Regions from separate parts of the Homo sapiens genome. Here all the other regions are linked to region 1. Evidence: promoter capture Hi-C in human tissues and cell types (Jung and others, 2019). All regions are on one chromosome and are shown on one strand. Each heading gives the region's core, a stretch centred on a gene start or on the middle of the fragment in contact. The rest is flanking DNA. Distances are from core to core; before and after follow the strand shown. Region 1 holds the start of S100P (S100 calcium binding protein P). Region 2 overlaps TBC1D14 (TBC1 domain family member 14). Region 3 overlaps KIAA0232.

Region 1 (2,534 bases), core at 13-2,512:
CCTACTTTGACCGGGGCAGGATGTGAACACAGGCCCCTACCTCCATGCTCTCCAGGACTCGCTCAGCCTCCCAAGCACAGACCCTCTGAGTACCTCCGCTATAGAGACGGGGAGGGGTGTGACTGTCCCTGACTCTGCCCAGAGTCCCAGGAGCCTTTGTGCCGTCTAAGCCCTGTGGGTGATTTGGGTTTGGTAAGTGCCGGGGCTCAAAAAACAACACCCCAACGTGGAAGCCTCAGAAACAAAAGTTTCTCTGTCCTGCTCCCACCCTCCTGTCTCCAGCTCCTCCTCCTCTGAGAGGCTTCCCCAAACCCTGCCATAAAACCCAGAAATATGACTCCAGTTCTCCACTCCCTCCCCTTTCTGTGTAGAAACCAGCCTAAAGAAACCCTCTGGCCTGCTTTATTTGACTGTAGGTCATAAGAGCTCCATTCCAGAAAGAGTCCTGCCCCACACCTAGAAGGAAGGAGAGCTGCTCAGAGAGGCCCCAGGGAATCTGACTCAACAGGCCCTACCAGGCTCTCCTCTTGGTCTGTGAGCATCCAGCCTTACTTTTGTATCCAATCATATTTCCATACTTCGCTGAACTGTGTTTATGGATAGTTTCCACCAGATCTTTGGATCTTCATCTTGAAGGCTGCCGTGCCACATAAGCTATGATCAAATACATCTGTTATGCTCTTCTCCTATTCATCTGCCTTCTGCCCGTTGATTTTCAGCAAACTCCCAGAGGATGAAGGGGAGTTTTCTGTTTGGCCCCACAGGGGAGGAGCGAGCGAGATTGACGTGGAAGCTGGGCCTCTGAAGGACACAGAGTGCTCTAAGAAAGGGACGATGGGGCAGATCCATGTTCACAAACACGCCCATGTGAATTCACTCTCAGATGTCTCCTCGTGTCAGCACGCTGGGTGCCAGCACGCTCTGATATTGACACAAAGGGCCACGGAGTCACCACTCACTCCACACACACTCACCCCGTGCCCACTTACCCAGGGAGGGCCAGGAATGAGGATGCCACTGTGGCTCAGTGATGGCGCCGAGACACAGGTGAACACTGTAAAATGTGGATGCCTGGAGGCAGCCCACACCCTGGGCCTTGGCTGGGGGAAAGGTTCCAGAAACGTCATCACAACGATGCATTTCATCAGAACTGAGCACATGAATGGGGAGGGGCAGGACTTCCTGAATGTCCCAACCCCACTGTCCCACCCTCTGTGTCAATATGAGGCTGCCTTATAAAGCACCAAGAGGCTGCCAGTGGGACATTTTCTCGGCCCTGCCAGCCCCCAGGAGGAAGGTGGGTCTGAATCTAGCACCATGACGGAACTAGAGACAGCCATGGGCATGATCATAGACGTCTTTTCCCGATATTCGGGCAGCGAGGGCAGCACGCAGACCCTGACCAAGGGGGAGCTCAAGGTGCTGATGGAGAAGGAGCTACCAGGCTTCCTGCAGGTGAGCCAGGCCGGCAGTGCTGGACTCAGCGGGGGCTGGGGAAGAAGGGGAAGGCGTGGCAGGCAGAGGGCTGAGAGCTGCGGTGGGGTCGGCGGTCAAGGGGCTCAGAGGCAAGAGGGACAGATCCTGAAATGCCCTGGAAGCCCAGCCAAGGAACGGACCCACCCTGGCATAAAGGCAGGGGAGGCGGGAGCATCTGAGCAGGGAGAGGGTGTGGTCAGCTTGATCCTTGAAACATGGGGTTGACCCCAGTGTATTTGTGACAGGCCTGGTGGGAGAGTGGGACTCAAACCTGTGCAGTGGGGGCAGGGGCGGAATGCAATCCAGGGCTGCCATTTGCAAGTTTGCCAAGCTTGCCAAGCCCTTGAGCCCTCGGGGCTGTCCTCCAAGGCTGCCGGCCATAAACGCCCCAGCTCTGCCTCCCACTTGCCCGCTTTCCCTGCTCCCATTCCCAGGCCCCTTGTTGCCTGGTATTAGTGGGTCTGGCAGGAAGGACGGGAGGAGGCTCCATCCTGGCACCTGTCTGCGCAGAGCTGTGGACCTCCCTTGGGCTCCCTGCCAGGGAGGAGCCACCGGCCTGAGCCTCACAGAAGGCCCCTCAGGGCGGCCAGGACCAGCTTCCTTCCGCCCGGGGCAGCCTCCGGCTGGGCTGAACAGAAGCCGTACCCTCTCCATTTCCCCTTCCCTTTGACCCCTGTCCTCTCCTTCTTTCTCACTCCCCCACTTTCTTCCTTCCTTCCCCTCCCCTTCGGGCCCCACCAGACTCTGCCTACCTGCTAAGGGGCTAACCCACATAGATGCTGATAATCAAAAATGAAAGCCTGAAATTTTCAGCCCTAGAATCACTTCAAAGACATGAAACACTTCAGAATATTGCTTCTATTTTCTTTTCTTTTCTTTTTTTTTTTTTTTGAGACAAGATGTCACTCTGTCACCCAGGCTGGAGTGCAGTGGCAGGATCACGGCTCACTGCAGCCTCGACCTCCCTGGGCTCAGGTGATCCTCCCACCTCAGCCTACCGAGTAGCTGGGACTACAGGTGCATGTCACCATACCCGGTTAATTTTTGTATTTTTTTTA
Region 2 (2,534 bases), core at 10-2,509, 250 kb after region 1:
CAGGGTCAGTTTCCACCACGTCTGACGTAGGCTCCCCCCGGGGCCGTTGCATTGCTGATTGAGCCGCATCTGGTGAGCCTGGTCCAGGAGTGTTGGAGAAAGGAAGTGGAGGTCTTCATTCCACTCCTCCCGGGTGCTGGGTGGGGAGAGGGAGGCAGCAGTGCCGTCCCGGGCGTTGTGGTGGTGGGCGCTACTTTGCTGGGCTGGCCTTGCCGAGACACAGCTTCTTCCCATGGTGTAAGAGCCTCCCCATTTGTGAACAGCACCCCATCCTCAGGGAGAGCTTGTCTGGGGGAGGACCGTGGGGATCAGCCCTGACTGTTGGCTGTGCAGATCCCTCTTCTGGGGGCTGCCTGGTGGCCCCAGTGCTAGGAGCTGCATGAGACAGTGGTGCCATGCTCGGCCACCCTGCCCTTGGGTGGACATAACCTCACATGCTCCTCTGGAGAGGGCCAGGCCAGGATAGCAAGGGGGGAAGTCAATGCCAAGAGGAAACATCTGGGAGGAACAGGGATCGTGGTCACACGAGCGTGAGGCGCCACTTCCTCTTCTTCAGTCCTTGGCCCTCTCCAGGGGATCCCAGCCTCACTCCCAGCTGGCTGCCCACAGCAGGTGTCCCCTTGGCCTTCCCACCAGGCACCAGCCTGGCAGCTCCCCCTCCCCAGGACCAGGTCTGCAGAGAGGTGGGGCTCGCTCATTCAGGGACGCCTTCTCACTGCTTCTCTGAGGATCCACATCCCTAGATCATTTCTGCAGATGTTTAGCCACTGCCAGGAAGCCCTCTCCAGCCTCCATGAGAGGACCAGCCTTGCCTCGCGGGCCTTCTGTGTGCCTCGTGGATCCCGCATTCACCCAGGGGGCACAGGAGAGATGCCGGGGTGAGCATGTCTGTCACCACAGCTGTGCAGGGGCTGTGGCTCGGGCTGGCCTCCCAGGGGCCCAGTGTTCCATTGTTTCAGGTCATTGGGTTCCTCCCCTGCAGCCGCACTCTGAAGAGTATCCGTCCCGGCTGCAGGAGTGGAGATCTGGTTGTGCAGTAGTGCAGCAGCGGCGCCATCCCCCAGGCTCTGTGGGCTGGCCTGAGTGCTGCATGGGAAAGCACCGTGGACACCATGGGGAAGAGATGCTAGTGAAACCCTCTCCGGCTCAGCCGGTGGCCTCTTCCTCATCAGCAGTGGACGGCATCCTGGCTCTGCCACCCACTCCCTCTGCATCTGGGGCAAGTCGCTTTGCAGACACAGCTTTCCCACGTGTGAAATGCAGAGTTGCGTCAGGCGGTCTCGGCATCTTCCAGCAGGAAGAACCTTCTGGAATCAGCAGTAGTCCCTGCTGTCCTCCTGCAGGCCTGGAGACCCCTCCTGGAATGGTTTTCCTGCCTGCCTCTTCCTGCTGCATAAATGAGAAGAATCCACAGGAGCCCCCCCCAGGAAGAATGGCCCCCTTTGCTGTGTGTCGACTCCCAGCTCTGTGGCTGGGGCACCTCTCATGCGCAATGCCACCCGACCAGGTCCCCCCCAGAAGCATGCGCACCCCTCGAGGGACTGCCTCTCACTTATTGTACGCTGGTGCTCATTAGAACTCAGCAAGTGCTTGCCAGATGGTTGAATTCAGACGTCATCCCTTTTCTTAGAGATTATCTGCCCGAGGACCCGGTCCTGGGGATGTAGTGGTCAGCATACCTGCGTCAGTCTTGGGGATGTAACGGTCAACACACCCACTTCTCCCAAATCAAAGCACCCAACGGCAAGATAGTCGACTGAGACCACACTGCAGAGACTGATAAGGGATGCTCAGTGCCAGGCTGTGAGTCCTGTGGCAGAGTTCCTGAGGAGAGGGGTGGGGGTGGGGTGGTGGTGTGGAGGTGGCATGGGAAAGCTGGGAGAGGCTCCACTTTACACAGGGGGGTCAGGGAGGGCTTTGGTGGGAAAGCAGCATTTGAGCAAAGATGTGAGTGGTGTGCGGGTGAAGCGTGTTCTTCCGAAGGACACAGTGGAGACGAAGGCCCTGAGGCCGGCGGGGACTGGCCTTGCTTTTCAGGCGTCACGACCTACACCAGGCTCCTTGAGAAATGGGCACCAGCGGCCTGTGCCCCTGGCTCCCGCGGCACCTCACGCATGCTCAGCAGAGTCATCCCTTTTGGCTGCCTGGAGTCGTATATTGGGGCGCAGCTGGTGCTTTAGTTACTAGAATATCAAACTGCCGTCCAGTGTGTTAGCCACTAGCCCCATGTAGCTATTTAAATTGAGTTAAAATTACCCGAAATGGAAAATTCAGTTTCTTAGTCACTCTGGCCAGTCAGGCGCTCAGTAGCCACATGTGGCTTGTGGCCACCCCGTTGGGCGGCTCAGATTAGTACATTTCCACCATGCAGGAAGTTCTGTTGTTCAGCCCTGGTCTGTGGGACAATCTGTGACTTGAACCTTTGTTGTTCTTGATGTGTAACAGCAGCACACAGTGGGTGTGAAACGAGCAAATCCATAATGGAATGTGTGTAGCCCAGAGAGGTCTACAGAAAGAACCGCCCTCAGGGCTCC
Region 3 (2,534 bases), core at 25-2,524, 140 kb after region 1:
CCTCCACCTCCCAGGTTCAAGCGATTCTCCTGCCTCAGCCACCCGAGTAGCTGGCATTACAGGCGCCCACCACCACACCTGGCTAATTTTTGTATTTTTAGTAGAGATGGGGTTTCACCATGTGGGCCAGGCTGGTCTCGAGCTCCTGACCTCAAGTGATCTGCCTGCCTTGGCCTCCCAAAGTGCTGGGATTACAGAAGTGAACCACCACGCCCAGCCAGAGTTGGGGACCTTTTCTGCTATGTTTTCTGTTGGATTCCCAGCCCTTAAAACAGTTCCTGGAATATACAAGAGGCTCAGATACGTATTAGACAAATGGATAGCCACATGTTTCTTTCTCAGGTCTGTGACTTGTGTGTAGGAGGGAAGCATGCTAGGAGTGGGTGTAGACCCCATAATCACACACTGGGGCCTGCCCTGCAGAGAAGTTACTGTTGCTTGTTTTAAATCCCCTAATCAAATTGTATCTACTAGCTCAGAGTCCATCCTTCTAGAAATGTAACTGGATTATTACATTATCTGTATTTGCCCACAGGTTGTATAAATAATAATCCCAGTCCTGAGTGCTAGGTGAGACTCATCCCTTCTTCATTCAACAGACCTTATTTGCTCCTTCAGCCTATTTGTAACATACTCCTGTAGCGTGTCCCGTTCAGCATTACGCTTCTTGAAAAGCTAGCATCTGCGGTGTTTCCTGTTACAGTTTATTAGAATCTTTAACAATAGGAACTGTAAAAGTCTGACCATAAAGCGCTCCTCGTGTGTGTCACTGCATACACTGTATTTCAACAAACATTCAACAGACTTTAATTAAATAACCTTCTACATCACAAGCATTGTTATTTGCATTTAAACAACACTTCCTATTTTTATTCTCTTATTTCAAATCAGCATTTCAGAGCTCCAGGAAGAAAGCCAGGAGTATCTTTCTAGAACCTTCCCTATCCCTGAAAACTTCCTAAGAATTATTCCATGCTATTACTTGAGCCCAGGAGTTTGAAACTAGCCTGGGCAACATGGAGAAACCCTGTCTCTACAAATAATACAAAAATTAGCCAGGCATGGTGGTGTGTGCCTGTAGTCTCAGCTGCTCGGGAGGCTGAGGTTGGAGGATCACCTGAGCCCAGGGAGGTCGAGGCTGCAGTGAGCCATGATTGTGTCACTGCACTCCAGCCTAGGCAACAGAGTGAGACTGCATCTCAAAAAAAGGAAAAAAAGAAAAAAAAAGGAAGAAGAAAGTGTTCATGCTACTGATGGAAGAGTATATACATGCCAGTATTCACTTTGACTCCCATAGTGACAAAAACCTTTCTGGGTAGTAGGTATGAAATAGCATATACATCACTGGATAATTCATGAAGAATTAAGCAGGAGATATCAGAAGGGTTATAGGGTGAAAAAACTTGTACTACTGACCCAGACCAAAAGTTCCTTTAATACCACCTTGACTTTTATCCCAAGTGACTTTCAGACCTGCAGTCTCCTGTTCTCTCTTTCCCTTTTGAGATTTCCCCCGCTTACTGTAAGTCAGTATCACATTGTTAAGAACATAGGCCTTGGAATCTGAAGACCTGTGTTCTAACCCCACCTTCTTCACTTTCCAACTTAGACCACTGACTTGGACAAGTTAACATCTCTGTGCCTGACTCTCCATTTCTTTTCTTATTATTATTATTATTTTAGAGATAGGGTCTTGCTTTCGCCCAGGCTGGAGTGCAGTGTTTCTCAGAGCTCACTGAGCCTCGAACTCTTGGGCTCAAGGGTCCTCCTGTCTCAGCCTTCCAAGTAGCTGGCACTACAGCTGTCTTTTCATTTATAAATTGTACAAATTATGTGCATATCTAATATCGTTACTGAGGATTAAAGGAGATTCATTTATTGACCATATAGGTGCCAGGCATCATTTTATGTACTGATAATATAGTTAGAGGAATACTAGACACAAAGTAAGTGCTCAGTAAATATTGACAACTATTGCTATTATTGTTGCTATTCATACAAATATTTCCTTCAAATAGTTATTTTCCTATTAACTACTCCTCTTCTAGCAGGTAGGCTAATGCATTTGTTAGAGGCAAAGATAAGCTGCTGATACAGTATTTCCAACATTTACCCTAACAATCTCAATTTGAAATATTTAGCCCTGCCATATATCCTAATTATGCATTCAGCAAACATGGTCACTATAATATTTCTGGATGTAATTATTACCTTTGACACAATTGGGTCCCTTGAAAAGGTGTTCTTTAAGACTGACAAATTCCAGTGGCAATTACTCTTATTTTTTGTGACATGATGACCAGGTTAAAAAAATAATAAATTTTAAGAAACTAAAGTAAAAATCTTTTGATGGTACATATAGATAGAATGAACCTGGATTTGTTCACTGTAAAAGTTATAATGGGAGGGGTAGGGGTGGTTCTCTTGAGTTTAAAAGAGAGTTGTTTAGCACAAAAGAAATACTTTTATTTGTGGTAAGAGTGTTGTTGCCCAAGAAACTGCCCCAAAACTTAGTAGCATTAAAACAACAACAA

The links. The method cuts DNA at HindIII sites, captures the fragments that hold promoters and counts their contacts. A contact is called where the count stands out against the background at its distance.
Region 2: a contact is called between a fragment that was not itself captured here and the fragment with the promoter of S100P in region 1, in 1 of the 25 tissues and cell types used here (spleen).
Region 3: a fragment that was not itself captured here is called in contact with the fragment with the promoter of S100P in region 1 in 1 of the 25 tissues and cell types used here (spleen).

Annotation. Positions count from the first base shown.
Region 1 is chr4:6,692,616-6,695,149 of GRCh38, forward strand. It overlaps S100P (S100 calcium binding protein P), which reads left to right and starts at 1,263. Exons shown (of 2, transcript NM_005980.3): 1 at 1,263-1,455. The coding sequence starts at 1,318. RefSeq lists enhancers at 1-484, 794-1,530, 1,531-2,266. The HindIII fragment of the contact is 18,883 bases long and covers 1-2,534 here.
Region 2 is chr4:6,937,907-6,940,440 of GRCh38, forward strand. All of the region lies in intron 2 of TBC1D14 (TBC1 domain family member 14), which reads left to right. Among named protein-coding and RNA genes, the nearest start is that of TBC1D14, 29 kb to the left of the region's middle. RefSeq lists a silencer at 931-980 and enhancers at 1,694-2,271, 2,272-2,534, 2,413-2,534. The HindIII fragment of the contact is 7,774 bases long and covers 1-2,534 here.
Region 3 is chr4:6,832,430-6,834,963 of GRCh38, forward strand. The region is part of intron 3 of KIAA0232; the gene reads left to right. Among named protein-coding and RNA genes, the nearest start is that of KIAA0232, 51 kb to the left of the region's middle. The HindIII fragment of the contact is 7,001 bases long and covers 1-2,534 here.